6 separate regions of the Homo sapiens genome follow, and all the other regions are linked to region 1. Evidence: promoter capture Hi-C in 16 types of primary human blood cells and fetal thymus (Javierre and others, 2016). All regions are on one chromosome and are shown on one strand. The core of a region is centred on a gene start or on the middle of the fragment in contact, and the rest is flanking DNA. Distances in the headings are between cores, read along the strand shown.

Evidence for each region. The method cuts DNA at HindIII sites, captures the fragments that hold promoters and counts their contacts. A CHiCAGO score of 5 or more calls a contact.
Region 2: a contact is called between a fragment that was not itself captured here and the fragment with the promoter of HEATR3 in region 1, in 1 of 17 cell types (neutrophils). The highest score is 8.4, in neutrophils.
Region 3: a fragment that was not itself captured here is called in contact with the fragment with the promoter of HEATR3 in region 1 in 1 of 17 cell types (neutrophils); the score reaches 6.6 in neutrophils.
Region 4: a contact is called between the fragment with the promoter of ADCY7 here and the fragment with the promoter of HEATR3 in region 1, in 8 of 17 cell types (neutrophils, monocytes, M0 macrophages and 5 more). The highest score is 10.1, in neutrophils.
Region 5: a fragment that was not itself captured here is called in contact with the fragment with the promoter of HEATR3 in region 1 in 2 of 17 cell types (M2 macrophages and M0 macrophages); the score reaches 6.4 in M2 macrophages.
Region 6: a contact is called between a fragment that was not itself captured here and the fragment with the promoter of HEATR3 in region 1, in 14 of 17 cell types (M2 macrophages, M0 macrophages, megakaryocytes and 11 more). The highest score is 19.1, in M2 macrophages.

The regions. Positions count from the first base shown.
Region 1 is chr16:50,064,441-50,067,856 of GRCh38, forward strand. It overlaps HEATR3 (HEAT repeat containing 3), which reads left to right and starts at 1,530. Exons shown (of 15, transcript NM_182922.4): 1 at 1,530-1,829; 2 at 1,927-2,099. The coding sequence starts at 1,692. HEATR3-AS1 (HEATR3 antisense RNA 1) reads right to left here and starts at 1,884. Exons shown (of 3, transcript NR_186390.1): 1 at 1,613-1,884; 2 at 251-367. RefSeq lists an enhancer at 1,338-1,632 and silencers at 1,483-1,532, 1,863-1,912, 1,993-2,252. The HindIII fragment of the contact is 22,013 bases long and covers 1-3,416 here.
Region 2 is chr16:50,317,050-50,320,465 of GRCh38, forward strand. It overlaps ADCY7 (adenylate cyclase 7), which reads left to right. Exons shown (of 26, transcript NM_001114.5): 26 at 1-1,086. BRD7 (bromodomain containing 7) reads right to left here. Exons shown (of 17, transcript NM_013263.5): 15 at 3,199-3,342; 16 at 2,838-2,981; 17 at 1-2,217. The coding sequence ends at 2,162. Among named protein-coding and RNA genes, the nearest start is that of MIR6771, 26 kb to the left of the region's middle. RefSeq lists an enhancer at 2,045-3,244. The HindIII fragment of the contact is 7,497 bases long and covers 1-3,416 here.
Region 3 is chr16:50,294,545-50,297,960 of GRCh38, forward strand. It overlaps ADCY7 (adenylate cyclase 7), which reads left to right. Exons shown (of 26, transcript NM_001114.5): 7 at 96-207. Among named protein-coding and RNA genes, the nearest start is that of MIR6771, 3.6 kb to the left of the region's middle. The HindIII fragment of the contact is 813 bases long and covers 1,464-2,276 here.
Region 4 is chr16:50,264,985-50,268,400 of GRCh38, forward strand. ADCY7 (adenylate cyclase 7) reads left to right here and starts at 1,567. Exons shown (of 26, transcript NM_001114.5): 1 at 1,567-1,696. RefSeq lists enhancers at 711-1,304, 1,250-1,339. The HindIII fragment of the contact is 14,845 bases long and covers 1,363-3,416 here.
Region 5 is chr16:50,227,482-50,230,897 of GRCh38, forward strand. TENT4B (terminal nucleotidyltransferase 4B) reads left to right here. Exons shown (of 12, transcript NM_001365324.3): 11 at 358-522; 12 at 1,671-3,416. The coding sequence ends at 1,847. Among named protein-coding and RNA genes, the nearest start is that of ADCY7, 37 kb to the right of the region's middle. The HindIII fragment of the contact is 534 bases long and covers 1,589-2,122 here.
Region 6 is chr16:50,210,542-50,213,957 of GRCh38, forward strand. It overlaps TENT4B (terminal nucleotidyltransferase 4B), which reads left to right. Exons shown (of 12, transcript NM_001365324.3): 2 at 782-905. Among named protein-coding and RNA genes, the nearest start is that of ADCY7, 54 kb to the right of the region's middle. RefSeq lists a silencer at 37-331. The HindIII fragment of the contact is 3,393 bases long and covers 139-3,416 here.

The DNA of each region.
Region 1 (3,416 bases), core at 280-2,779:
ATTAATTTCCCTTACTGGACAGTCAACTCTTTGACAGTAGGGTTACCATGGAATGGAAATTTTCTCCAGTAGAATGTTGACCTGAGCCTGGGCGTGGTGGCTCATACCTGTAATACTAGCACTTTGGGAGGCTGAGGCAGGCAGATCATTTGAGATCAAGAGTTCGAGACCAGCCTGACCAACGTGGTAAAACCCCGTCTCTCCTAAAAATAATAATAAAAAAAAAATAGCTGGGCATGGTGGCACATACCTGTAATCTCAGCTACTTAGGAGGCTAAGGCAGGAGGACTGCTTGAACTCCAAGGCAGAGGTTACAATAAGCCGAGATCGCACCATTGCACTCCAGCCTGGACAGCAGAGTGAGACTCTGTTTCAAAAACAAAAAGAAAAAAAGAAAATTGACCCAAAGCTATGCATATATTGAGTACTCACTCGTTACATGTCTAATTATAAAGACCACCTAAGATTCTCCTGTACTTTTCCCTCTGCTTAGTATTTACCACAATTATAACCAAAGTTATTCATATAATTATATATTCAACAGATCTCTCCCTGGACTGTAAATTCCATAAGGACAGGGAGAGAGGACAGGAACCAAACTGTCTTGATTACTGCTTTATTCCAATGCCCAGCACTGTACCTAGTACTCAACAAATATCTGCAAAAGAATCTCTTTGTTAAATACGTTTCCAAACATTTACATAGTGCTTAGTATCTGCCAGTCTCTGTTCTTAGCACCTTAAACATATGAACACATTTAGTCTTCGTAACAACTCCATGAGGTATATACTATCGATGTCCCCACTTCACTGATGAGGAAACTAAGGCAGGGAGATTAGGTTCTTAAGCGATTCTGTTTTATCAAATATAGACACACATTCGTTCCAAAACATTAACTAGTCTCTGTCTACGACAGGAGCTATGGGAGGTGCTGGGGACACAAAATAAAATCGTGGTTAATGCTTTTTGAGTACCTGCTATATATCAGGCTTGGTGTTAGGCACTTTACAGAACTTTATGAACTTTACAGAACTTACAATAACCTTGCAAGTTAGGTATTCTTAATCACATTTGATTATTTGTAGCCGGTGTTACTAACTTATTGGTTGCTTGATTGATTGATTGAGACAGGGTCTCGCTCTGTCGCCCAGGATGGAGTGCAGTAGCAGGATCACGGCTCACCTCAGCCTCAAACTCCTGGGGTCAAGTGATCCTCCGGCTTCAACGTCCCAAGTAGCTGGGACTACACACACACGCCACTATGCCCAGATAATTTTTAATTTTTTTGGTGGGGAGGACAGGGAGTGGAGTGTTTTCCTATGTTGCCCAAGATGGTCTCGAACTTCTGGCCTCAAGTGATCCTCTCGCCCGGGTCGGCGTTACTATTCTAGTCCAACCTCCTACTTACCCGGTAAACCCACAAGGCTCCGCCCCTTTGCCGAAGCTGGCCCCGCCTATGCCCTCTTCCACGCCTGCGCGCTCCGTGCGCCAGTTCCCCCCACCCCGCCCCGCCCCAACCCCGACCCGGCAGACGACGCGCCGTGCGCCTGCGCACGGCTTGCCCATGTGTGCTGCAGCCGTCAGCCGGCCCAGCTGAGCAGCAGCAACGGACCTTGTTAACGGCGCGGCAGCCTCCACCGCCTGCTGTTGCCCTCCTCTCTCGGTGGTCTGTCCGCCCAGCGCACGTCACCATGGGCAAGAGCCGGACGAAGCGCTTCAAGCGACCTCAGTTCTCCCCTACGGGCGACTGTCAGGCCGAGGCGGCTGCGGCGGCGAATGGGACCGGAGGCGAGGAGGACGACGGGCCGGCGGCGGAGCTGCTGGAAAAGGTGAGGCGAGGGCTCCGTCGGGCCGGGAGGCGAGACGAGGTTGCCCCGCGCGCGTGCGCATTGCGCGCCTTCTGACCCTTTTCGCTCTCATCCGCAGCTCCAGCACCCGAGCGCCGAGGTCCGCGAGTGCGCCTGCGCAGGGCTGGCCCGGCTGGTGCAGCAGCGGCCGGCACTCCCGGGCCTGGCGCGACGAGACGCCGTGCGCCGCCTCGGGCCGCTGCTGCTAGACCCCAGCCTGGCCGTCAGGGAGACTGCAGCCGGCGCGCTGAGGTGAGCCAGGAAGGGTGCGGGGCGGTGCCCACCGCTGGCCTCCCCCGCGTCTGGGCTGCGGGCGGTCGCAGCGGTCACCCAGCGCCTTCTGTGTGCCATCAGGCACTGGCCCGGTCTCCCGTTTGCAGAGATTTGAAGCCAGTCTCCAGGCTCCGGAGAAGCCCAGTATCCCCGCATCTCATCTGTCCACCTGGCTGCTTCACCTGCAGCGTCCACCTGCTCAGGCGTCCTGCCCTCACGCCTTGCGCACGTTTTACACTCTCCAAAAGCCCTCCTTAGGGTCCCTTGCTTGGATGAACTCTTCAGTTCATGTGTCAGGAATCGTTCTAGATGCAGGGGACTTTGAGCAGCCAAGACTTTTGAGCGAGATCTGTTGACAGCCAAGATCCCTGTCTTGGCACAAGTCATGTTGATGGGGAGACAGACAGGAAGCTAGTAAAAAGGTAAAACATAATATTAAATAGTGAGAATTGCTGTGGGAAAACGAGATGATGATGAGTTGGGGGTGGGAAGTTTGAATTGGGTGCTCTTGGGCCGGGCGCGGTGGCACACACCTGTAATCCCATTGCTTTGGGAGGCCAAGGAAGGAGGATCACTGGAGGCCAGGAGTCCAAGGCCAACCTGGGCAACATAGCAAGACCCCGTCTGTAGAAAAATTATAAACAATTAGTCGGGCATGGTGGTGGGTGCCTGTAATCCCAGCTACTCAGGAGGCTGAGGTAGGAGAATCGCTTGAGCCCAGGAGTTCGAGGCTGCAGTGAGCTATGATCACACCACTGCACTCCAGCCTGGGTGATAGAACAAGACCCTGTCTCAAAAAAAAAAAAAGGTGCTCTTTAGATGACTTGTGAAAGGAGATGTGCAGGGTGAGAGAGCCAGGAGGCATGGGAAAATAGGGGGAAGAATATTCCCCACAAAGGGAGCAGCAACAGCAAAGAAGCGAAGCAGCAGGCAGCTTGACGTGGTTAAACAGCAGAGAGGGTAGGTAGGTGGCTGAGAAGAGCAGGGGTGGGTAATTACAGGAAGTGAGGCTGGAGAGAGGGATGAGCTGTACGATGGTGTAGGGCTGAGGACTTAACTCTAAGCAGGGAAGTGACATGCTGCAACACATTTTGTGAAGACCACTCTGCTGGTTGTGCAGAGAATGGACTGCAGAGGGGGCAAGAGTAGAGGTTAGTATTTGTAGTTCTTACAGCTCTGTCTCTGTTTGTTATTTATATTTCATTCACTGATATAGCAAATATGTATAAAGTGCCAACTGTGTGCCAGACACTGAGCTAAGCTGTGGGCATGGGGTAATGAGCAAGGCAATGTCTC
Region 2 (3,416 bases), core at 413-2,912, 250 kb after region 1:
GTGCGGGGGTGGCGGTGGAGGGAACGAAAATTGAACCTGTCTGCCTGTGCTGTGTCGTGTGGCTTTATCAGCCCGAGGAAGGGCAGGTGTATTCTAATTTGCACAAAGGTGCTGGGTAGACTAGTGGCAGCTCTCATGTGCTGCACATAAGTGGAATCAGTATGAATAGAAGAACTTGCTGTATAAAGGAATTTCATGGCAACAATGCTGGTAAGGGCAATTAGCCTCGCTTAAGTTGCCTTTTTTACACACCAAAACTTTTTACATGAAGGGCTGGTTTCACATGAATACTATACTGAAATCTGTGCTCTCAAGATCTAGCAGTGACCAGGGCTGCCCGGCGGGGGCTCTCCTGGCAAGTCAGGAAGGTTTCTGTTGCTAATATAACATAGAAACACATTAGTGCACTGGGCCTCTCTGAGGTCAGCATATTTGTACTCTTGGAATATTTGTTTTTTTCTTCAGTAACAACAGAAACCCCAGTTGGGAGTTTAACAAATAACTGACTACCACTCACTCATGCATTTTTATTTCCAATTAAAGCAAAGCACTGTGCTGTGCTCAGATAATAATAGTTTGTAAGTAAAAGTTTTTAGTTTTCAGTGTTCAGGTTATAGAATATAACTGACCATAAAAATTACCTGCAGGTATTTTCTTTTTATGAACTTGTTTTTAAATTACCAAGTAATTACTGGTGTCATTTTGTTTTATGACAGACACACGTATCTAACAAACAAACAAACAGTGACCTTCTCCATGGGTCAAGGACTTCCTTACAATTTCTCCTGAGTTAACTTTTGTGAAAATAATACCTAAGGTTTTCTGGCTTATTGAGGAAATTTCCTAACAAACAAACAAACAAACAAACAGAAGAGAAGATCATTAACCACTGTATACTTTGTGTATATAATAGGTCAGTGTAAAGAAATATGATTTGAGGTGGTGCATGCAAGTAACTAGGGTTTATTCTATATAATGAATATTTATAGATCTGTAACATTTGTTTCAAAATGCTGTTTCATTTTTATAAAGTACCAGTGTTTAGCTGCTTTTTATACATTAAATTAGCAATTTGAAAAACTCAAATATCTGAAGGTATTTTATTTTCGTGGTCCTCATGAACTCACTAGAGATTAAAAGTAGACTCAAACAACTTGAAAATTTGACTCTTTTAGCATAAGATTTTAAGTCTTTTGAGGGAATTAATTTTCCTTTACCCTATTTGTTCTTCCTAAATACTAATTAATTTTCAAAGTCAGGAAAATAATAGAAATCAAATGGCTTCCTGCCTGGGTGATTTATAGAAGGATTGTATAAGGGCCTTCAAACTTAATTTGTTCACTGAACAAGGCTATCTATCTATCTATCTCCATCCTGATTTTTTTCCCTTGTGTATAACAGGTTCTATACCGATTCAGCAAAATCACCATTTATCTCAGCTTGCTGATAAAAGGGGGCCATGAATCTTGTGGTCTCCTACTTAGAGTTCAACTCCTTGGGTACTTGACCTTTGTATTTCAGATAAACAGTAAGTAAAGTAGAAATGTCACCTTTTGGTAATCTGGTAATTCCCTGATCTATTCAAGGATGACTTAGTTTATCTTATTTGGCTTATTACTTTGCTATAGTACTAAGTAACTCCTCTTTCTTTAAAAAACGGAAAAAACCAAAAAAGAACACTAGCCATGTGACAGTGCTATAAAACTCCCAGTGTGCTTTTGTCAGGGGTGGGTGGGAGGTGCCTAATTACCCATACAAGGGCATCATTCCCACTGGGTATGCAGGGGCAGAACCACAGTAGTAAATTCTAAAATTATTTCAAGTATGTTCGTATAACGGAAAATCTCACTGGATGGGGCCGTTTTAAGAACGCTTCTTAGTGATGATCCTGTCTGTGGGACATAAGGAAGAAGCATTGGAAGGCACTATTTTGAAAGAATGCTGCACAGGTATGGCAACAGCCCCAAGCACATTCCTTCCTCACGAGTCCCAGGTCCAGCTTTATTACCTAATACAAGTCCAACCTCTGGAACATCCAAATTCGCTGTTCCAAAGTTTAATTAAAAACACAATTTACAAATATTTAATATCTTCTGAAAAGCATTTCTAAGTTAAGAATGAAAAAGTATGTACATAATATATAATCAAATACCAGGCAGCCTCAACTTCCACCAGGTCCACACTCAGCAACATCCGTCTTTTTAGGTTCTTCAGTGTCTGAAAGAAAAAGACATCACTTAATTCAACATTGTTTTTACCTTTTAATTAAAAAGGGGACATGAAAGTCAAGCTGCCATCCAGAAGCATAACTGCTGAGAGCCCTTCTTCACCACATCCAAGGCTGAAGACTACGCGCATTATCAGGTGATCATTGTGGCTCTTCTGCACACAGGAAATCTTTATTAATTCTTTAGACAAGATAAAAAGAAAACTAAGAGTAGTTTATACATTAAAAACAGATAAATGTTCCTTTTACAGTTGACCCTTCTTATCCATGGGTTCCACATCTGCAGATTCAACCAACTGCCAATTAAAAATATTTGGGGAAAAAACCCAATTAAAAAAATACAACAAACAATGAAAAAAATATAAAAAATACAGTCTATTAACTACATTCTATGAAGTATATAAGTAGAGATGATTTGAAGTATACTGGAGGTTGTGTGTAGGGTATAGGCAAATACCTTTTATGTTAGGGACTTGAGCATCTACAGATTTTGCTATCTTTGTGGGGTAAATACCAAATCCGAGGTCCTGATACCAATCTCGGGCAGACACTGAGGGATGACTATAGTCACCATAGCTTTCTGCTTTCCCAGAGAAAACAGGGCACGTACCTTCTGTCAAATCCACAAAGTTGTTTTCCATGACGGGGGAAGGAATGGAAATCCCCATTGCTTTTCGAACTCCATACGTGCTTACGATATCACCTGGAGTTACTTGCTGTGCAAGTTCTTTAAGATTATTGGTCACTTGTTCAGCTAAAAAGAAAAACAAAGTTCCAGATACTAAAGCATGGTTCCTTTAGATAGAGGCATCCCAAAGAACAGTAAATGTACACATGCAAAGAAAACAAAACAAAAAAACTGTCCCTGGGATTCACATCAGCATTACTCTATAGTGGCATCACCACTGTACTCAAGAAGTTTTTTCTTTGAAGCATCCCGTGACTCTCCTCTTATGGGAGGCAAAACATACCAAGATGCATTTCTCTGTATGAGGGACCCAAGAGACAGATCATGTTCGGAGGGGGTCTGGTGCTCAAACGTTCATTCTGGGCTTCCTGGAGTTCCCTGAGCAATCTGGTGGTCTCATCAAGTTTCTTCTGGAATATTTCAGCTTCTGTGTGGTAAGAAAACAGACACACTTCTGTTTGATCTTGTGCAGTAAACCGAATCCTAGGCTCTAGGGCTTTG
Region 3 (3,416 bases), core at 620-3,119, 230 kb after region 1:
CAGGCTCCTGGGGCTCCAGACAGTCCTGCGTGCTCCTGCTGCTGCTGTCTAGGAGCCTGGCTCTGACACTCCCTCCCACCCTGCCCCATCCCCAGCATCCTCTATGCGGACATCGTGGGCTTCACGCAGCTGGCCAGCGACTGTTCTCCCAAGGAGCTGGTGGTGGTGCTGAATGAGCTCTTTGGCAAGTTCGACCAGATCGCCAAGGTGAGCCCGCTGGCCTACAATGGGCAAAGCCAGGCCCCTCCCCTGCCTATTACACCCCAGGGGTGTCCTGTGTTCAGTGCCCTGCTGGAATTGGGATGGGGAGGCGTGGCTGAATTTTAGCATCCAGCCAGCAAACACAAGCGCCCCATGGTAAAGGTGGGGGTGAGTGGTGGCCACGGCAGCCAGGATCCTGTGCCCCCAGAGTGACAGGCCAGTGGGGAGACTGACAGTGCACACTGGGCGATATACTGGGGCTCTGGAGCTCAGATGGGGGCTCAGGAGGAGGAGATGGCTCCATCCTCACTGGCAAGGCTAGCAGCCTCCACTCACCTGGTAGCTCAGGAGGACTGTGGAATGCCCAGCCTCACCCAGAAGCTGCTTTTCACAGGATCTGAGGTGAATCATGTGCACATTAAACTTTTACGTTTTGTTTGTTTGTTTTTGTGAGATGGAGTCTCATTCTGTCATGAAGGCTGGAGTGCAGTGGTGCCATCACTGCTCACTGCAGCCTCGACCTGCCAGGCTCAAGTGATTCTCATGCCTCAGCCTCCTGAGTAGCTGGGACTACAGGCATGCACCACCACGCCTGGCTAATTTTTTTTTTTTTTTTTTTTTTTTTTTTTTGTAGCAATGGGGTTTCGCCATGTAGGCCAGGCTGGTCTCGAACTCCTGACCTCAAGTGATCATCCCCTCTTGGCCTCCCAAGTGCTGGGATTACAGCCGTGGGCCACCACTCCTGGCCCACCTTAAAGTCTGAGATACTTGAAAAAATATCTGAGGAGGAAAGGGAACAGTGTTCTTAGCAGGGGGAACAGCATAGACAAAGCCTGGAGTAGAAAGAAAGCCCCGTGTGTCCATGGGGTGAACGTGCTCAGTGTGCGTGTGAGGTGTGAGGGGGACAAGGGCACAAGGTCTGACATGCAAGGACATGAGGGCTGAGGCGAGGACCAGGATGCTGAGGAGCTCGACACGTGCCAGGCAGGGAGGGGGTAAGGCAAGCAACATTTCCATTAATGGACCAAATGGTCCTGAGAGAGGGTAAGTGCCAGGCCCTGAGTCTGGGTGGGGCCTTGGGCCTACATGGTATGTGCTTTGAAGAAGAGAAGTGTGGGGGCCAGGAAGCCTGGGGAGCACCTAGCCCAGCCTCAGGTGATCAGGGCAGGCTTCCTGGAAGTGGTGGCCATTAAATAGAGACTGAAGTGTAAGATTTAAGGTGGTGGCTCCCTATCCTGGCTGTACATGCAAATCACATGGAAAGCTTAAATAAAACACCAGTGCCCATGTCCACACCCATCAGAGTTCTGTTTTGTTTTGTTTTTGAGACAGAGTCTTGCTCTGTCACCTAGCGTGAAGTGCAATGGCATAATCATGGCTCACAGCAGCCTCAACCTGCCTGGGCTCAGGCGTCCTCCCACTTCAGCCTCCCGAGCAGCTGTGACTACAGGTGTGCACCACAACCCCAGGCTAATTTTTTTGTATTTTGTGGAGATGGGGTTTTGCTACATTGTCTAGGCTGGTCTTGAATTCCTACGCTCAAGTGATCCACCCACCTCAGCCTCCCAAAGTGCTAGGATTACAGGCATGCACCATCATGCCCTGCCCCATCAGAATTTTTTTTTTTTTTTTGAGACGGAGTCTTGCTCTGTTGCCCAGGCTGGAGTGCAGTGGTGTGATCTCTGCTCACTGCAAGCTCCGCCTCCCGGGTTCACACCATTCTGCCTCACCCTCCTGAGTAGCTGGGACTACAGGCGCCTGCCACCACGCCTGGCTAATTTTTTGTATTTTTAGTAGAGACGGGGTTTCACCATGTTAGCCAGGATGGTCTTGATTTCCTGACCTTGTGATCCGCCTGCCTCGACCTCTCAAAGTGCTGGGATTACAGGTGTGAGCCACTGCGCCTGGCCAGAATTTGTAAGAGCCCCGCAGGTGTCTCTGTGGGCAGAGAATCAATGGTCTAGAACTTGATGGGAGGCAAGTTATGACTTCACACTGGGAAGAATTTTTCATGATCAGAGCTACTCAATCCCAGGAGGGACTGGAAGTGGGCTCCCTGTTGCAGGGGGTAACCAAGCTTCTACAGGATTGCACTGGTCAGGGATGCTCTGGAAAACTGTCCCATCCTGGGGATTGTGGACTGAGTGACTCAGAGGGCCTGTCTAGCCTGGAACCTTCCTTCAGGATCTGCATGGCTTCTGAACCAGCAGCTGGGAGCCCCAGAGGTTGGGCCTCATGTGAGGCAGGGGCCCTGGGCTCGGGCCACAGCTGGCCCTTTCCTTACCATAAAGCCCACACAGAGGGTCCCTTGCCCTTGGACACAGTCTTCCCTCTCCAGCAGGCCCAGGAGGCGTGGCCCTATTGCACAGATGGGGAAAGGGAGGCCATGGCAGGTGCCAGCTTCCCAGTCAGAGCATCTAATCTCTGGGCAGAGTTGGGCAGGGCTGGTCCCAGCCTTTTCTCCTATCAACAATCAGATTCCAGAAGTGTAAGCTCTTTCCAAGAGCCAGGGCCTCCTCTCTCAGAGGCATACAAGTCACACCTCCGCACAAGACCCAGCTCCCCAACTCCAAGTGTCAGAGACACAGGGGACTGTCAGCCGGTGGAGCAGCCGGGGGAATGTGGCCTCTCCTACATCCCCGAGAGCTGGGCTGGGTCCATGGGCAGTCCTGTGCCTGGTCCGAGAGGAGATCAGGGTAGCTGGAGCCTAGTATCCAGGTCTGCCAAGATTGCCTGCTTTCTAGGAAAGCCACTGTCCTCTTGTCCTTGCAGTCACTCAGAACTCACTCAGCATGTGCCAGATGGGGCCCAGCAGGAAACATCTGGCACACGCTGAAACTGAGTAATTGGCGGAGGGCACAGGCCAGGGATGGTTCCCAGGCTGGGCAGGTGCAGGGGACCTGGAGGCAGGGCTGGTGCTGTGTCTGGGGCCTGGGTCTGTGATGGCTGATGGGCACAGAGTAGGGACGAGGACAGGATAGGCTCGAGTCCTGGAGACAGATGGTGTTCCAGGAGCAGGCCTAGCCCTCGTGAGCCTGCAGGACAGAGCCCTCTTAGCTCCCTCCTGGCCAGAAGCCAGAGCACAGGGCCACCTGCTGGGGCGTCCAGTCCGAGGGTCAGCTGAGTGGGGTAGAGGGTGGGGAGGGGAGAGCAGAGGCAGATGGCGCTCCTTCTTCAGCTCCCCTAAAGCCCCACCCATGAGGCCTCGGTGCATG
Region 4 (3,416 bases), core at 317-2,816, 200 kb after region 1:
TGCCACCACGCCTGGCTAATTTTTGTGCTTTTAGTAGAAACGGGATTTTGCCATGTTAGCCAGGCTGGTTTCAAACTCCTGACATCAGGTGATCCGCCCACCTTAGCCTCCCAAAGTGCTGGGATTACAGGCATGAGCCACCATGCCAAGCCTGGGAGATCTTTATATATGCTAGGGAGGAGTCTTTTGTCAGTCATATAGGATGTGACTTTCTCCTAGTCAGTGGCTTGTCTTTCCCCTCTTTTGATGATGATGATGTCTGTTCCTTCTCTGCTCTGGGACATTTGCTAGGGAGACATTTGCTGATAGGAGGGCGACCCTGATGGGGAGGATCCCCTGAGGTCTCCCACTCCCTCCTGTGGCCTCTGGAGCAGCCTGGAACCCTGTGTGAGTCCTATGCCTGTCTCCACCAGATGGCAGACCTTAGATCACCTGCTAGTTCCCTGCATGGGGCCTGGCACAGAGACAGCACCTAACATGTTCAGTTCCTCCTGATCAGTATGTGTGGGATGTCTACTCTGTGACCAGCTGGGGCTGGACGCTGGGGACACAGCTGTTGATATTACAGCTGCCCTCCCATCTCTGCCCTCCTCAAGGATATAACCTAGGAAAGACAGACCAGCAACCAGTGGTCACAGCACAGAGGTGCTGTGATGGAGGAAGGTGCAGGGGTTAGAAGACCAGAAGAGGGGTGTCTGACCCTGGATGTGGGAGGTGGAGGAGGTACACCATTGCTTTGAGGAGCTCGTAATCCCAGGATGCCAGTCACATGCTCAGAAGGGCTCCCTGAGGACCAGGTGCTGCTGTGGCCAGCGGGCTGGAGGCCTCCCCCTCTGTTTTGGGAGTCTCCACTCTCTCCTCTTAGCCTCTCCTGATCTGCTCCCTCGCCACTGAGCGCCCCATGATCCCAGTGGGGAAACTGAGGCCTGGCATAGCAGAAGGGGTGCTGGGGTTTGATTCCCAGCCTCATGGTGCCCAGGGATGTTGGGGGCTCTCCAGGGACTCTGATTTTGGAATAGGAGCCCCAAGGATGGGCCTGCCCCTGCCCTGCTCCCAGCATGGGAGCGTAGGTGAGATGGAGAGGCAGTGGGCTGGGCTGGAAGATCTTTGACCTCTCCTGGGCCCCTCTCAGAGGTGGACGGGGCCACCTTACTACATAGATAGGGAAATTGAGTCCCAGGAAGGCGCGGGGGGCCTGTCTGTGAGCGTCAGAGCCCACAGGAGGCTCAGGCCAGGCCGCTAATTGCTAATTGCTCACTAAGGATGCATTTGCTCCCCACTTTGAACAGTTGTCTTGGGGCTTCTAATGGAGGTTTTTGGTGCTTGTTTTATTATTATTTTTTCAAAATTGTTCCAGCTTCAAGCTTCAAATTTCCATGAAGTCATTGGAGCCCGACAGCTCCCAGGCCTGGCAGCTCCCAGGCTGCGGAGAGCAGCACTGTGGCTGGGGGAGGGGGCCCTGCACACCCCGAGAGGCTGGGCTGTGGGCTGTGCCTTAGCCTTGCTGCCGCCGCCGCCGCTGCTGCCGCTGCCGGAGCAGGAAGTGGTGGGTCCCAGATGTGACTCACTCTCATTAGGTAGCGTGGAAGGAGCCTTCGGATGGGTGAGCCTGGGCGCGTCTGAGGAAGGGCAGGCGGGGGCCGGGCCACCTCCCTGCAGACCCTGGCCGGCTGCTGGGGCCGGGGAGGAGAGCCAGGTAAAAGTGGGGTGTGGGGATGGAGTGTCACCAGTCCTAGTGGCTTGAGCCCCAGGGGACGGGGCTGGACAGTGGGTGGGAAGCAGCTCACCCGGCAGCCTGGCCTGGGAGTGCACTGGGCAGGGTCTGGGCTGGGGGAGTAGGAGGCTCCGTGAGCCTACTGGGCAGATGGCTGGGAGAGGCGGCCCTTCAACAGGGGACCAGAGGCGACTTGTCACTGGCTTTTCCCAGCCTGACAAGAAAGTGCGGTTGTGACCACAATGTTGTACATGTGGCCCGTTCCATCTGGAATTCTAGGAACCACAGACTCTCAAATGTCCACACTCCTTCTCGAGGGTGTAATTTTACATTTACAAGCACACATGACTTTTCTCAATGAAAGGAAACATTGGCAAGGGAAGGCCAATTCAACTAATTTTATGAAATTATAAAACAAAAAACAAACAAAACCTCTGAAAGGAGTGCATGCCTGAGGGTCAGGAAACCAAGATGCCTCCAAAAAGCAGACTGGTTTCCCTTTCCCTGCAATGCCTCTCCTCTATCCCCCAGGGACCGCATGGGCCATCTGGAGTGGGTCTTTCTGGAGCGGGTCTTTCTGGAGCTTTCTATGCATTCATCTAAACATGTATGTACAGAGGGTGAGGCAGTTGCCTCTTCTCTGTGTCATCACATCAGGGTCAAGGGCAGGGACATCTGTGGCTGGGGGCTTCCTCCCTGGACAGCCATTGCTGGAGAGGAGAAGGGAGGGCCGGGAGGGGGAAGCCAAGGGCCTGGAGGTAGGGGCCAGGCCGAGCCACCTACGACAGGGGCCCTGGGTCCAAGGCCTGGACGGGCAGCCAGTGTGGGCTGGATGTGTCTGGAAGGGCTATGTGACCGTGGGCCTTCACTAGCATCACCATCTTGCAGATGGAGGCTGTGAGGGGTGGACTCAACACCAGTGTTTCTCGGAGTGAGGACCGGGCTGCCCAGGGAATCACAGGGGGTTCTAGCCTGTGTGTGGAAGGACATGTTTAAAATCTAAGTATTTGTCTTGGGGAAAAAAAAATCTGTAAATAGGACATTGCCATTGTGACATCATGACTGTATTATTGTCTTAGACGAGGCCAAAGGAGACATAAAAGTGACAAGCCAGCCAATTTGAGAGGAAGTGCCAAGTGCCAGCCCTGCAGGAAGTGCAGGAGGCTGAGGGGGCTGCAGCTCAGGAAGGCGTTTGCTGCACAGCCTTCGCTTCCCACCCAGTTGTCTGTCTTCCCACCTCCAGAGGCCCTGGGTTCCCAAGGTTTACCTGCAGCTCCTGGTGCAGAGTGTGGGGGAGGGGAGGCTCTCAGATTGTTCCAGATTCTGTGGCCCTCAGAAGGGCAGGTGTGAGCTTTGTGGAGGTAGCGTCTCCGGTGGTATTTTCTTTCTTTCTTATTTTTATTTATTATTATTTTTTGAGATGGAGTCTCTGTCTGTTGCCCAGGCTGGAGTGCAGTAGTGACCCTCTTGGGTCACTGTAACCTTTGCCTCCTGGGCTTAAGCCGTCCTCCTCCCTCAGCCTCCTGAGTAGCTGGGACTACAGTTACCACACCACTACACCTGGCTAATTTTTGTATTTTTAGTAAAGTAAAGACGGGGTTTCACCATGGTGGCCAGGCTGGTCTCAAACTCCTGACCTCAAATGATCCATCCACCTCGACCTCCCAAAGTGCTGGGATTATAGGTGTGAGCCACCACCCCC
Region 5 (3,416 bases), core at 606-3,105, 160 kb after region 1:
CCCATCATCTTGTGTCTGGCTGAAGCCAGGGACTAGGACCTAGGTTCCTCACTCTTTACCATACTCTTTCATTTTCTATAAATAAAAAAACAAATAAACTTAGACCTCTGTGAGCTCCTTCAAGGTCAGATGTGGGCAGTGGATTTAACAATGAACAGAAGCTCTCTGATAAAATCAGTCATTTTAAATGTTTGGAGGAAAATTTAAACAAACAGTTAATTTTTTGTGTGCTTCTTTTAACTCCCAAATGTTTAAATTTAGTCCAGAGAGTACTTTAACCAAAATTGTTTTTCTTTCTGAATATTGAGTATCTAAATTACTAATATGTCACATTATAACTCACGTGACTTGTGTTAGGATTCCGATGCAACACCATGCAAAACCCCGAAACAGCTGCTTTGCCGTCCGTCCACTGGGAACCGAGTAGGGTCGCAAGATGTATCCTTGGAGTCCTCTCAGGCAGTTGGGAAAATGCAAAGCACCCAAACCACTAACACATCCAACAGCACCAACAAATCTCAGGTGTGTGGAACGTGGGTTTTTAATTGTTAGTATTTGATACAAAATATTTAGAATTTCCCACATGTAAATAATATGCAGCATGGGTTTGAAGAAAACGCTAGATTGAAGAACAAACTTATTTTATTCTAAGAGGTTCCAACACATGACAGTGCTTCTAGGAACAGGATGTCCTAAGGATCCTTGTGAGACACCATTGTAACATAAATCTCTTCAGGAATCTATTGACTGGTCCTTATAAGATGTTCCAGCCAAACTACCATATAAAAAGTGTCTCAGTTGTACATGAAATAAGCTGGCATGAAGGTTTTGTGAGGCCTCATGGCAGTGTGCATATCTGGGAATAATGTATCCTTTTCTAATATTTTAATGTTCAATACCTTGTTGCTGGTGTTGAAATGATCAGCTGGCTGTCAGGCGTGGTCAGTTGATTAACATTAGCTTGGACTTAAAAGGCCACAGAGATACTCTAGTTTAAGTTTTTTTGTTGCCTAGAATTGTCATTAACTGAGTAATGACTCAGAGTGAGGGGAGGAAGCCATTGATATGGGGCTCTGGCCTAAGGCTGGGTCACTCCTCACTATAGCTGGGAACCTGGGAATAGGCCTCTTGGCTGTAACCTTGTGTCTGATTTGACTCACTGAGTTCACTTTACCTACGCGGCCTTAGCCATGTATGCCAGACACAGACTTATCACAAAATACCAGTTCAAGTGACAGGGTTGACAGAAGGGACTGAGGTCACGAGAAAGCCACAGGCCATGAGTAGCAGGAAGGGAGTAGCCACCTGTGCTGACCCAAACCTACCAGTGTGCCTGTCATGCCCAAGAGCCTCTTCCCGCTCTGTCACTTATGATGTGGTGTTTGGGTTGGTAAGTTTCTTAAGAAAACCTTTGCATCCCACACACTGTTAAGAAGGCGGGCGAGTGGTCTATGCTTTTCATTATTTCCATTAAAATAAAGTAAGGGTTTTAGAGCTAAAAAGAACCCCTGTAACAGCTTTTTCTGCCCACTAGATAAGTCAGTGATCAGTAAGGTAACAATCTAGCCAGCATATTCCTAGTTTTGAAAGCTTCCCCAAATCCAGGTGTTTGAGAACACTCTGCTTTTCTGCAATACTGATGTCTTTGTGGTCGTTTTCTGTTTCTGCAGCATGGATCAGCAAGGCTCTTTCGTTCTTCCAGCAAAGGCTTCCAAGGTACAACTCAAACAAGCCATGGTTCCTTGATGACAAACAAACAACATCAAGGCAAATCCAATAATCAGTATTACCATGGCAAAAAGAGGAAACACAAGAGGGACGCGCCCCTCTCAGACCTCTGTAGATAGTCAGCGCTGCGCGGTGGACTGTCTTCTCTGTGCAATGATCTCATGCTCAGGACAGTTGCGCAGGGACTCCTGGGAGATATTCAGGAGCCTCACACTGTTCAGACGTTGACTTAGCAACTGCGTTTTTTCCCAGCTCGCCACAGAATGGATCATGAAGACTGACAACTGCAAAAAAAACAAAACAAAACAAAAAAAAAAGCAAGCAAAAAAGAGGGAAAAAAAAGGCTGCTTATTTGATAAGTCATATGCTACAACAGGGTCATTTTAAGATTTAAAGCTTGAATGTAAAATAAATATATTTCTCATTGGCTTTATGCAGAGTTATAGGGAATAGTATTCAGTGTTGGTAGGGTGATAGAAACAAAAAACAGTATCAGAGGATGAGGTGGGGAAGGAAAACAAAGGTATCTGATAGGAAGTCCAGATTCCAAAGGGGAAAGTGATCTGTGCATGTTTTTTTTTTAAATATTTTTGCATATATTTACCATTTTATTGTGTGTATATATAGAAGACCATATAGGAGATTGATATTTGTAATAGTGGATTTGTTAATAATACTTTTTACATAACATTACTGTTTAAATTGTAAACAGATTTTTTCTCAGGATTAGTTTGAAAAATAATCTAAATTGTCATCTTAACATCCATATATAGGGAAGTGATTAGTTCTATTACTCAATTTGTTTTTCTCAGCATTGAAATGACTTAATAGAACCCTTGTGTCCTGCTGCAAAAATTTTTCCTCTCTAAAGAAAAGGTTTATGGTGGCAAATGATGTTTATTTTATTTTGTAAAAAAAAAAAAATGTACTATGTACTTTTGTGTAAACACTGAAAAATCTCTGGTCATCTCCGAGAATTAACTTGCAACTGTTTTCTATAGTGCTGTCGTCTTGGGCAATGGGCAATTACATGACTTTGTGTTTGCTTCCTTTGCAGTCTTTTTTTTTTCCCCCCATTTCTTCCTAATAGGAAAAAAAAAAAAAAAAAGGTCACCCATGTCTGGTCTCATTCCTGTTGCAGTGAAACTTCGAGTTCCACAGACTTTGCATGCTGGCTTCTCTAACCCTGTGTGCTGCGTGTGCCTGTTTCTCATCTCTTATTCTTTTTAAAATTCATGCTTAACTACTGTGGGAGAATAACTGTAAACAGCTTTAATTAAATCATACTTATAAAAAACTATTTTCTTATATTCCACTCTATGCTTTTGGTATTGTTGATCTTTACAAATTAAATGGTCTTTGATAATGGATCTATTTTGTATTGCCTTATTAAGACCAAATACTTCTTGTCATCCCATTCTTTATCCTCTTCTTTCATGGAATTGTTATCGTTAATTAAAACTTTTTTAAACATTGGCTTGTTTCAATCATACTGTAAATTTTGGTTGTAGTCAGCTTTGAGTGCAATGAGATGTATAATTCTGTTATCATTACCTGTTGAGTTTGAAACTCAGTTGGGAATATTTAATATAATAGAATGTAAGTGACATTTCTGAAAATGCTTTCTTTCAGGGTGAAAGCTCTTATGTTTAGCATCAATGTGTATGGCTCTGTTAAATGCAGCCATT
Region 6 (3,416 bases), core at 585-3,084, 150 kb after region 1:
ATCCAGTCTAGTCTCTTTGCTGGTCCATTGTTTCCATAGTTGCCAGTTTAATCTTCTTAAAATGCTGCATTTTTGAAGTCAGTCTCTTTTGGTCCCTCTCAGAAACATTTAAATAGCTATCTGTTGCCACAGGGGGAAAGCTTGAACCTCTTAGCCAGTCATTCAGAGCCTGCCCTCTGCTGGGGCCTGCTTTCCTCTACAGATGCTTCTCCCACTCTGCCTGCCACAGCCCTTGTAGCTGGCTGATTGCCCTGTACCTCGCAGGCTCTGGAAGTCTTCAGCTCCTTCATGGAGCCTTTGCCAGCCATTCTTTTCAAGACTTTGCTGTTGTTCACTGCCTGATTTGTTCATTTGACACTTAATTCACTGAGCAAACATTATGAAAGATGTACTGTTTGCTACTGTGAGGAATGGATCCCCAAGAGATAAGAGGGTCAGTCCCTACTGCCAGGAAACTTGCCTGTGTCACCTGGGTTCAGTATCTTGTGTCTATTAGATCAGAAGTGGAAAGGCAGAGGCCAGCCCGTATGCTTGTTTTATTTTATTTAAATCACCAGCACCCCAGCAAGTGTTTTGCACAGGAAATTTCTCATTATTTAATTATTTTGGGTTTTTTGATTAAATTCTGTACATTCCCATTTTAGCTTATCTTGAGTTATAACATTAAAATTAAGGTAGTCATCAGCTGAATTATAAGACTTAATTAGATAAGATTATTTAAGATAGTGATTTCTCATTAGATTGGCCCTGTTCATATTAACTTTTCTGTTTTTTTCTTCAGTCTGCATGAAGAAATCAGTGATTTTTATGAATACATGTCTCCAAGACCTGAGGAGGAGAAGATGCGGATGGAGGTGGTGAACAGGATCGAGAGTGTAATTAAGGAGCTCTGGCCCAGCGCTGACGTGAGTCCCTTCCTGGGTAGCTTATGCTTCGGACAGTCCTTGTCCACGGGCTAGAAGCCTATCTGCTGGTATCTCATGCTAGTCCTCACATGCAAGTAGAAGTGCTCTGTAGAGTTGTGGTCTAATTAAATTTTAAAGGCAAACAATTTTCTGCAGTCTTTAGAATTGAGGCTTCCTAACTATTTTCATTGGATTGGATGACTAACAACTATTTTTTTTTTGTAGTGCTAATAGCAACTACTAAAGGCAAGCTATCCTTAGAAATTATTAGTGTAAAGAGAAGAAAGACAAATCAAACCTCATTGTTGTAGTGGTCTGTTATTGGATATGATATATCAAAACCTCATTACTACTTAGTTCCAGCCTGCCAGGGTAAACATTATATAATTGTTTACAGCTAAATGAAAATGTCAAGTAAGAACTTTTGTCACTTGAAGTTCATTTCCTTTGGCTAATGCACGCATAAGTCTTTTCTTATTTCTTTCCTGAAATTGCCATTTTTCATCTCTCTCAGACCAGCTAATTGCCTTTTAGACAGCTCCCAGTCAGTGAACAAAATGATTACTCAGGATTTCTTCTTGGCTTATTTGTCGTTTTTGTTACTGGTACTAAGTCTTTTGTTTTTTGTTTTTGAGATGGGGTCTCACTCTGTTGCTGAGGCTGGAGTGCAATAGTGCGATCACGACTTACTGCAGCCTCGATTTCCTGGGCTCAGGTGATCCACCTCAGCATCCCGAGTAGCTGGGACTGCAGGTGCACGCCACCACACTTAGCTAATTTTTGTATTTTTTTGTAGAGACTGAGTCTCACTATGTTGCCCAGGTTGGTCTTGAACTCCTGGGTTCAAGCAATGTGCCCGCCTTGGCCTCCCAAAGTGCTAGGATTACAGGTGTGAGCCACCACACTTGGCCTGTTACTGGTACTAAGTTAATACGTCACTTTTTAGGGCACTTTGAGGGCCTGTTCTACAATTTTGTGTATGCAAAGAAGTACACAAAATAATACTAATAAAATCCATTACTTTGTGTTTGTAGCTTTTCTTCAGGCACTGTCCTGGGTGGTGGTGGGAAGCTAGGGAAGGTTTTTTTCCAATTGGCAAAACAAAGAAGTTTCATTGTATGTAAAACTTGCAAGTATATGACAGTATGTATATGACACTGTAGGTAAAGGGAAAAGGCAAGGGTACTAATGTTTTATGAGCAATGACCATACATCGCATTCTTTCTCCTATGTGATCCAAATCAGTGGTTCTCAGCTAGTGGCTATTTTGTTCTCCAGGGGGCATTTGGCAATGTCCGAGACATATTTGATTGTCCTGACTGGGTACGCACTGCTAGTACCTAGTGGGTAGAGGCCATGGATGCCATCAGCCATTCTATGATGAACAGTATAGGCCCTTACAACAAAGAATTATCCACCCCCAAATGCCAATGTTGAGAAGCCGTGATCTAACTTAACCCTTATCTTTCTTAGGTGGAGGTTGATTATCTATCTATCTCTTTCTCTCCAGCCAGCCAGGCAGCCATCATCTGTCTACCTACAGATGAGGAACATGAGCTTGTGGTTAGGTTCCCAGGTCCATCTCGCCTCAGAGGTTGAACTGGTTTCACTGTTTATCATTTTTTTCCCCCGAGATGGAGTCTCGCTCTGTCGCCCAGGCTGGAGTGCAGTGACATGATCTCAGCTCACTGCAGCCTTTGCCTCCCAGGTTCAAGAAATTTTCCTGTCTCAGCCTCCCAAGTAGCTGGGGTTCAGGCGCCCGTCACCACACCTGGCTGATTTTTGTAATTTTAGTAGAGGTGGGATTTCATCATGTTGGCCAGGCTGGTCTTGAACTCCTGACATCAGGTGACCCACCTGCCTTGGCCTCCCAAAGTGCTGGGATTACAGGCGTGAGCCACTGTGCCCGGCCTATCCTTTTTTTATTACAATTACCTGCATACATATTTCTGCCTGAGTTCCACCGTTCTCCATGGGTTGAGATGGAATGCATCCCAGTTTTATGCCACAGCATGATGTTACCTGATGTTCTTTGTGGAATTGACCTAAAGGCCCTCACTTGCCCTACAGTTAAAGTAGTCTGATCCCAATTTAGTAATCTATTCGAAGACTCCTGCTTAGAGAACAAAAATGAAGGATTTGTGATTGTGTCTCTGGATAATGAGGGAACATTAGTGATCTGAACTGCTTCTGAAAGTTTCCTGTGGTTGGCTTTCTGTATCCACAGGTACCACACCTCCATATTAAACCAACAATGGATTGAAAATATTCAGAAAAAACTATAAAAATAACAATGTACCAATAAAAACAATACAAATTATTTTAAAAATACAGTATAACAACTATTTAGGTAGCATTTACATCATACTTGGTATTATAGGTATTATAAGTAATCTAAAGATGATGTAAAGTACATGGGAGGACTAGCATAGGTTGCATGCAAATACTCTACCATTTTATAGCAGGGACTCAAGCATCTTCAGATTTTGGCATGGTGGGACTGGAACCAAT